Regions from separate parts of the Homo sapiens genome. Here regions 1 and 3 are each linked to region 2. The links are contacts of gene promoters, found by promoter capture Hi-C in blood cells and fetal thymus (Javierre and others, 2016). All regions are on one chromosome and are shown on one strand. The core of a region is centred on a gene start or on the middle of the fragment in contact, and the rest is flanking DNA. Distances in the headings are between cores, read along the strand shown. Region 1 overlaps PNKD (PNKD metallo-beta-lactamase domain containing). Region 2 holds the start of USP37 (ubiquitin specific peptidase 37). Region 3 holds the start of PRKAG3 (protein kinase AMP-activated non-catalytic subunit gamma 3).

What was found. Contacts are between HindIII fragments. The CHiCAGO score rates a contact against its expected background, and 5 or more counts as called.
Region 1: a contact is called between a fragment that was not itself captured here and the fragment with the promoter of USP37 in region 2, in 5 of 17 cell types (fetal thymus, total B cells, total CD8 T cells and 2 more). The highest score is 6.2, in fetal thymus.
Region 3: a contact is called between the fragment with the promoter of PRKAG3 here and the fragment with the promoter of USP37 in region 2, in 1 of 17 cell types (M0 macrophages). The highest score is 5.1, in M0 macrophages.

Annotation. Positions count from the first base shown.
Region 1 is chr2:218,306,652-218,309,581 of GRCh38, forward strand. The region is part of intron 2 of PNKD (PNKD metallo-beta-lactamase domain containing); the gene reads left to right. The region is part of intron 2 of LOC105373881 (a long non-coding RNA gene); the gene reads right to left. Among named protein-coding and RNA genes, the nearest start is that of TMBIM1, 16 kb to the left of the region's middle. The HindIII fragment of the contact is 816 bases long and covers 951-1,766 here.
Region 2 is chr2:218,566,912-218,569,688 of GRCh38, forward strand. It overlaps USP37 (ubiquitin specific peptidase 37), which reads right to left and starts at 1,440. Exons shown (of 26, transcript NM_020935.3): 1 at 1,267-1,440. It overlaps CNOT9 (CCR4-NOT transcription complex subunit 9), which reads left to right and starts at 1,928. Exons shown (of 8, transcript NM_005444.3): 1 at 1,928-2,067. The coding sequence starts at 2,044. RefSeq lists enhancers at 1,283-1,910, 1,911-2,538, 2,333-2,522 and silencers at 1,403-1,472, 1,563-1,622. The HindIII fragment of the contact is 2,574 bases long and covers 192-2,765 here.
Region 3 is chr2:218,830,483-218,833,529 of GRCh38, forward strand. It overlaps PRKAG3 (protein kinase AMP-activated non-catalytic subunit gamma 3), which reads right to left and starts at 1,321. Exons shown (of 14, transcript NM_017431.4): 1 at 1,256-1,321; 2 at 854-893; 3 at 264-419. The coding sequence starts at 1,288. The HindIII fragment of the contact is 3,600 bases long and covers 507-3,047 here.

The sequences.
Region 1 (2,930 bases), core at 109-2,608, 260 kb before region 2:
AGCACACAACCCCCAAACCCGATTCCACTCCCTCCCCGACAGTTCACCCTCCTTACCCACAAGGCACTTGAAGTGTTATGGGGCAGCGCCAGGAATTACTGCACAGCCTAAGGACCATCACAGAGACATGTGTGCAATGAAGTGTGCAAGTCATTACCTAGGCCTAAGAGATGCCCTCACCCAGGAGCTAGGTGTCGGGATTGGTTTGTTTGGTCATCTGACAAACACAGATGCTTCCTAACTTATAGAGTGGTTACATCCCAATAAACTCATCCTAAATTGAAAATATCCTAAGTGGAAAATGCATTAAATACACCTAAACCTACCAAACATCATAGCCTAGCCTAGCCTGCCTTAAACATGCACAAAACAATGACATTCGTTTACAGTTGGGCAAAATCATCTGGAAACACAGATGATGCCGTTGGCCAAGTTGGCAGACCTGAAGGAGAGGGTTGGGGTCACATGAGGATGAGGAGGTAGCTTTGGACAAATCAAGTTAAAGATCCCGTGTGGCAGCAGTCCCCAGCATTTTTGGCACCAGGGACCAGTTTCATGGAAGGCAGTTTTTCCAGGGACTGGGGGAGGCAATGGGGTTAGGGGGGTTCGGGATGATTCAAGCGCATTACATTTATTGTGCACTAGATTTCTATTATTATTACATTGTAATATATAATAAAATAATCATACAACTCACCATAAGGTACAATCAATGGGAACCCTGAGCTTGTTTTCCAGCAGCTGGATGGTCCCATCTGGGATTGATGGGAGACAGTGACAGATCATCAGGCATTAGATTCTCATAAGGAGCATGTAACCTACATCCCTCACATGCGCAGTTCACAATAGGGTGCGAGCTCCTATGAGAATCTAATGCTGCTGCTGATCTGACAGGAGGTGGAGCTCAGAGGGTAATGCAAGCAATGTGGAGCAGCTGTAAATACAGGTAAAGCTTTGCCTGTCCTGCTGTGTGGCCTGGCTCCTAACAGACCAAGGACCAGTATAGGGTTGGAGGGAAGCGGTTGGGGACCCCTACCGTGGGGCATCCAAGGGAGGCTCTTGTGGACATTTCTCCTTTGAAGTAATGAGTATACAGGTGGTAGCCTGTAAGTGGTGAATTTAGAGCTAGCAGAAGGGGAGCTTGTCAGAGAGGGGAGAGGAGAGCCAGAGAGACTGTGGCAGGGAAGGCAGAGGAAAAAGGCATGCTCCATTGTCATAGCTGCCACCCAGAGGTTCAGTGATAAGGGCTGAACAATGACAAATGGGTTTGACCTTCAAGGGGACAGCGCCAAATTAGGATGGAGCAGTACAGGCAGGGGCCCAGTTGAGTGGCCTGAGAATGGACGTGAAGTGAAAGGTAGAGACAGCAGAGAGGACTACTTTCTTTGTTTTAATAAAATAATAATTTTAAAAATTAAAATACTAATATGTTTTCATTATAGAAGATCAGAAAATATTTTAAAAGCACAAAAAAATAATAAACAAATGGTACCCCATGAGTCAATCAACCAAAGATTATGACTGGAAGCATTTTAGATTTTTTTTTTTTTTTTTTGAGACAGAGTCTCACTGCACATCACTCAGATGTGCAGTGGTGCCATCTCGGCTCACTGTAACCTCTGCCTCTCAGATTCAAGTGGTTTTCCTGCCTCAGCCTCCTGAGTAGCTGGGATGATTCAGGCACCCGCCACTACACCCAACTAATTTTTGTATTTTTAGTAGAGACGGGGTTTCACCATATTGGCCAGGCTGTTCTCAAACTCCTAAGCTTGTGATCTGCCCGCCTCAGCCTCCCAAAGTGCTGGGATTACAGGCACGAGCCACCGTGCCCAGCCTTAGATTTTTTTTAATCCATTTTTGTTTACAGAGGTACAATCGTATCAGTTATTCAAAATTTACCCAGTTTTGTGTCCTATTTTTTTCTCCACTACTTTCTTTCTTTCTTTTTTTTTTTTAGACGAGTATTGCTCTATCACCCAGGCTGGAGTGCAATAGCATAATCTCGGCTCACCGCAACCTCCACCTCCCGGGTTCAAGCGATTCTCCTGCCTCAGCCACCTGAGTAGCTGGGATTACAGGAGCTGCCACCACCCCTCAGCTAATTTTTGTATTTTTAGTAGACAGGGTTTCACCATGTTGGCCAGGCTGGTCTCAAACTCCTGACCTGAGGGGATCTGCCTGCCTCAACCTCCCAAAGTGCTGGGATTACAGGAGTGAGCCACCGTGCCCAGCCTCCTCCACTTCTTTCCTTCCTTTCTCTTTTTCTCTCTTTCTCTCTCTCTTTCTCTCTTTCTCCTTCCTTCCTTCCTTCCTCTTTCTGAGACAGAGTACAGTGGCGCAGTCATGTCTCACTGCAATCTTGACCTCCAGGATCAAGAGATCATTCAAGATCAGCCTGGGCAACATAGTGAGACCCTGTCTCTATTTAAATAAAAATAAAATAAAATAAGAGATCCTCCCACCACGGCCTCCCAAGTAGCTGGGACTACAGGCACCCACTACCACGTTCAGCTAATTGTCATATTTTTCGTAGAAATGGGGTTTCACAGCCGGGTGTGGTGGCCAAGACCAGCCTGGCCAACATGATGAAACCTGTTTTTATTAAAAATACAAAAAAATTAGCCGGGCGTGGTGGTGCATGCCTGTAGTCCCAGCTACTAGAGAGGCTGAGGCAGGAGAATTGCTTGAACCCAGGAGCCAGAGGTTGCAGTGAGCCAAGATTGTGTCACTGCACTCCAGCCTGGGCAACAGAGAGACTCCGCCTCAAAAAAAAAAAAAAAAAAAAAAGGAAAGAAAAGGAGAAAGAAAAAAGAAATGGGGTTTTGCTATGTTGGCCAGGTTGGTCTGGAACTCCTGACCTCAAGTGATCTGCCCCCTTGGCCTCCCAGAGTTACAGGCATGGCCACCACACCCAGCCTCCAGTTTATGGG
Region 2 (2,777 bases), core at 190-2,689:
GAAGAAAGAATTTCGATATGGAGAGAAAGATCAAGGCTTTGGATTTGGCTGTGTTGCATCTGAAACTCCTAAGAAAAAAATCAAGTTGAGATGTCAAGCAGACAGCTGGCTATCTAGATGTGGAGCTGAAAACAAAGGGAATAGGCTGGAAATAACAATTTTTAAGTCATCAATATATAGATCAAATTTAAAGCTTAGGGAGGAATATAAGAGTAAAAGAAGAGGACCTAGGACTGAACCCAAATACTCATTTTACTTCATCAAACATCTTTAAGACAAGTGAGTACTTTTATATCACTGGGTTTTTCAGTCCTCCTTCCATTTTACCTTTCAGCAGAATGCAACACTACTGATGACTTTTTTCATGGCTTGCAAGACGCATCCTCCTCTATTGGTTATTAAACAGCAGGAATTCGTCAATGCTCCATCCTAGGTGCCTTTATTTTACAGCACTATACTCTTTTTCGGCAATTTCATCCACATCCATGGCTTCAATTACTATCAATATGGCAGATGACAAACACATACACACACCGCGCACATTTACGTACGCAGCCCAGAACTCTCCTAAGATCTCCAAACCCACTATATCCAACTGCCTACTTGACATTCCCTCTCAGGTATCTCTTCCAGTTAGACACTTGTCAGGAATTGCCACCTCAATAAAGGAATTTATACAGAGCTGAAATTTTGAGAGGAATACCCCAAAACCACTTTAGGACAACTCTTCAGGACACAGGATTTTATCATCAATCATCATTTCCTTTCATGGATCATGACTTAAAATAGTTACATCTAACAACCTGATCTGGCGGCTAGAAATGGGCGCAAGGAAATGCACAACAAAAATACAATTCATGTTTTGCAGTGAGGACTGGTCAAGAGGAAGGTGAAGATGGTCAAGAGAGTGAATGAGTATCATGTCCAAGGCCTGGTGGATGTGCCGTAACGAAAGTCACCTGAAGAGACAGCAGGCCCTGTTAGAAGGTAAGAGGCGAACGACAACAGCCCCAGAGAAAAGGGGCCAGGTTTGAGTTTCGGAGGGAGCGAGTGGCAGTGGAGACCAAGTCAAAGGAGAGGTGGAAGCCGGGGCAGTGCACCCAAAGGTAGTACCTGTGAGGCTGGGGGTGCATCGAGGGGTTGTGGGCGGGCTGAGTAGCAGCAGGGCGAACTCCAGAGGAGTGAACGCCGAGTGGGCGGATCGCACAGAAGGAGGAGGAGGTAGGGAAAACGGCTCAATTGAGAAGCTACCCCGGCCCGCCTTACCTGCGCCGAGGGTCCGGAGCCCCCGGACAGACCCGCGGAAAGCACGGAGCCCGCGAGGAGTGGGAGGAGCCGAGGGTAATGGAAGTAGGGATACCGAACCCAAAGGAGGGAGGCCGCTAGCTACCCCTAGTCAGGGAGAGCGGCTGATGGCGGGAACTGTGACCACACGCAAACACGCACGCACGCACGCACACTCGACGCGACCAGACAGGCGCGTGCGCGTCAGTCGAAAACTCCGCCCCTCACACGCCCTCGCCCCGCCCCGCCAGTACCTAGAGCGGCCTAGCCCGGGCAGCCCCGCCCCTGCCGTGACTGTAGTAGGCACGCGCACTTTCCACCTCACCCGATTTCGACGCCCCCCCACCATTTCCCTCCTACGCAACCCAGTCGGGCATGCGCAATAGTTGTCTTGCCGGGACTGTCCATCTTTTCCCGCCGTTCACTGGCTTTTGGAGGAGGGTCAGAGTTCACGCCGCTCTCTGGAAATAACTGCTCAAAGCCAGAAGTTGCGGGGACTAGTGGTCGCGGACGTCCTTCCGGTCCTAAATCTTAAGGGGCAAAGGACATACTCTGGGACTGTTAACTAGGCCCTGGAGGCGGGAAGAGGATGTGTGGGTGGGGTCAGGGGTGAGAGGTCAGAGGGCCGCGAAGTGGGCGGAGCGAGCCGGAGTCGGATGGCGGCTACGGCGGCTCATTGTTTTCCGCTGCAGGGGTGCTGAAGGGGGGACGCGGGTCGGACGCGTCCGGCTGTGGAAGAGAGCGGCGGCCGCTCACAACATGCACAGCCTGGCGACGGCTGCGGTGAGTGGCTGGGCCCCCAGGCTTGGAACCAGAATCCTTTCTCAGACCCACGTTTCGGCCTTCTCTCCTAATTCCCGGTGTCGGGTCCCTAGTCTGATTTTTTTCTGCCCTCAATCTCCAAGGCCCCGGTTCCCCTCCTCGGCACGCTTTGGTTGTGGTGGAGCCGGCCCCTATTTCCTTGCCGGACGCCTCTCGCGGCCTTCAGCGCGACCCATCGCGTTCTTTGCGGGCGCCGGGGCCTGGTCCCACGCCCGTAGCAGGCCATTCATTGATTTATTGCGCTGACCAACAGTTTCAGGGCGCCAGTTGTGTTCTGGGCGCCGGCGTCGATGAGGGGAATTCCATGGTCAATCTGACGCGGCCCCTGCTCTTAGAACTCACCACGTCGCAGCGGGAAGGAAATGGCTTCTAGTTCAAACCACTTGCTTTATTTATGGAAAACCTGAGGCCCGGAAAAGTGCATAATTTTTGCATCTGACTTAGGTTCTCTGCATTTAAAACTTTTCCTCGACACATCTCGTTTTACCCGCGTGATCTTTTAACAAAAAAGAAAGATAGTGTAATTCAGCTATCCGAAGTAATCCTACTTCTCTTGGCATTTAAATAAAATCTAGACTCCTTGCCATAGCCTGCACGGCCCTGTATGATGTGGTACTTAACCCACGTTTATAATCTCGTTTTATGTCTCTTGCTCCTAAAGCTTCAGCTAC
Region 3 (3,047 bases), core at 71-2,570, 260 kb after region 2:
TGCTGTGGCCCTATTTGCAGGTGAGGGGCTGACCTGAGAGTCGCCCCAGGTAGTGGCTCTGTCCCATCTTTCTGAGTTGGCCATGCTGGCCTCTGGCACTGCAGTGCCTTGTTCTCTACTATGTAGGGAGACTGAGGCCACAAGATGAAGGTTGGGTCCAACTCTGTGTTATGGAGGGACCTGAGGTAGAGACCAGACCCAGGCTCCTCTGGGATTTCCCACTCCCCTGGCTCCCACCTCCCCAGAACTGGCCTTGGCCTCACCTTCCCCCTGACCTGGTGGCTCCCCTTCCTCCACCGACTTCTGCCTTGTCCATCTCAAGGCTTTGGCCCTCCGTTTCCCACGGATTCTTTCTGAGCTGCTGGTCACAGCTGGTGATGGCCATGAGCTGCTGTTTTCTTGCTCTAGGAAGCTCATCTCTGGAAGGGGAATGGGGCCTGTTTGGTTAATAGGGAGTAATGCATCAAAATCAATTCAAATGTTATTCATAATCTTTAGGATTTGCAAGCTTCCAATGGGCTTTTCTCCAACATATTTCTCATTTAAAACTTACAGCAGCCTTATAAAGCAGGCATTATTATCATCCCTATTTTGCTAGTGAGGGACCAGAAATTCAGAGAGGTTAAGCAATTTGCTGCAAATCACACAGCAAGTAAGTGGGAAAGTCACTTCTGAAAAGAGGAAATTGGAGGTGAGGGAAACACACCTGGGGAAAGGAGGAAGAACAATGAGGAAGAAAGACCAAAAGGAGGAAGATAAAAGCCAGGCTGGGAGGGAATTGGGGTCCCAGAAAAGTGGGGGACAAGGAGGTGGGGGAAGAGGTTAGGCCCCAGGGAGGGGGCATTCTCCCTACCTTGATGCTCAGAACCCCCAAGGCTGCTCCAGGAAGGGGTCTGTGGGGAGAAGAGTTTCTGAAGGAGTGGGGAAAGTGCCTTACATTCCCAAACCCCTTCTCCCTGAACACACGCCTACACACCCATGCACACCAATACACACGCTCAGACACACGCCATACACAGACATGCAGCCATACACAAACACACACAGAAACACACACATCCAAACACTCCCAGGCACACAGAACCACACACACTCACAATACATATGCCCAAACATGCACATGCCCATATTCACGAGAAAATCCAGACCAAACACACACCAGAAGACACACACGCCCACACACACATTCACAGCCCGTGCGCTCAATCTTCTGGCCTCAGCTGCCCCGGCTCCGGCTCCCCTGGGACCCCCATACCCTGCGCAGTGCGTGCTCCAGCCCGGGCTCCATGTGGCCAGCCCCAGACCAACTGAGAGCAAGTGTGCGACACTGTGGCTGGGCTGCACTATTCTGGGCCCGGCCCCGGGCACCCTGCCCTGCCAGGATCGGTTTCTCTCTGATTGGGTGTCAGGCAATGAGAGGGAGGGGCCCCCATTTGCTCAGCTGCTACAGCCCTGAAGGCTGGGGGTTGCTGGGAGGGAAGGGGCGCACCGGATAATCTGGGTACTTGGTCCTCAGCTGCCTCCTGGGTCACTGAGGACAAGCTAGAGGGACCCTTTTTGAGGGGATGTGGCTTGGAGCATGTGGGAACATGGTCATTGAGCAGAGTTGGGCTCTCAGAGTCCTGAGCCCCTATTCCAAGAGCCTCCCTCATCTTTATCAGGCACCAAAGAAGGGAACATGGAGGCAGATCAGCATAACTTTCTTCCTTGTTCTAATTTCAGTAGAGGGTGGTGCTGGAGTTAGAAAGGGCAAGTTGCAGCCAGCTCAGAGGCTGGAGATGAGGCAAGGGGTTTGTGGGTAGTCCAGGAGAGCAGCTAGTGTATGTCCAGATGTCCAGATTTGAGTCCCTGGAGTGTGTCCCTCTCTCAGGTGAAGGAGATGGAGTGGGTGTTTCAGGCAGGTGAAGAGCTGTGAGAATCACCTCGAAGGCGTGGGGAGCACTCAGAGCTCCCCGCAGGGGAAGAGACATCTGTTTCCACCTGTGGTTGGGAGATATGCCTGGGTGTGCAGGTGTCCCAGCCCCCAACCCTCTGTGAGTGCTGTGCCTACATCCCTGGTGCCAACAGGATCCCAGCCTGGCTCCAGTAGCTGCCACCCTCTTCCTTGGCATTCCCGGAGCCTGAGTCAATGTCCGGATTGGGAATGCTGACCCAGCTGCTCCGGCTTTCCTCTCTCTGCCCCTCCCTTTCTCTCCTCCTTCCAGCCTCTTCCATCCCAGCCCTGGCCCTGGAGTGGACACTCAACAACAGACTGGTGAATTTCTGTCTGAGTTTATTACATGTGTTTTCCATCAACCCTCAATGTTCCTACTCTGCCAATGGGGAGGGTGGAGGAGAATGGAGTTGGGAGGACAGCCTTGGCCAGGGCTGTTCCTGTGGTCCCCAGCCTTTCTCAAGGACATCTGCTCACTGGACAGTGGGAACTGGCTCAGAGGACAGAGATCAGTGTAAGAGAATTTCCTTCACACCAAGCATGTTTTTTCAAATGGACTCAAGATAGCCACCACCAGTTTGAGAGAAAGGAGAGTAGGAAGAACACCAAGTCCAGAGTGTTCAAGCATAAAAATAAGGTCTACATGAGGCCATTGGCTGTGGTTACTCAAACATGGAGCCACTCAGAAGGCTTCTAAGATTGTGAGGGTGTTGTATTGGCAAAGAAACCATAAGCCTGATCAGCAAAGCCTGGTTTGACACCCCTTCCCTTGCCTTATTCCCAGCCCTCCAAATCCGCACCAGCAGGAAGAGGGCTGTGAAGGCTGGAAGGACTGCAGAAAGCACAAGTTTGCCAGTGTGGGACAAAGGATATTGGATAAACAACAGCTTCCCAGCAGGAAAAGCCAGAGGCTACATAGGAGAGTGGAAAGGGGAGATCTTCCCAGAGAGCAGAACCAGGGGTGGTCAAATGTGCTGACCAAGAACTTACTCCACTGCCAGGAAAGGGCTTAGCCATTCCTGCCCAACCAGATTTGATAATTAAGATCCAGCAGCTGCTGGGTGTTTGCCATTCTTTCAGTTGCAAGTGGATTTTTTTTTTTGAGACAGTGTCT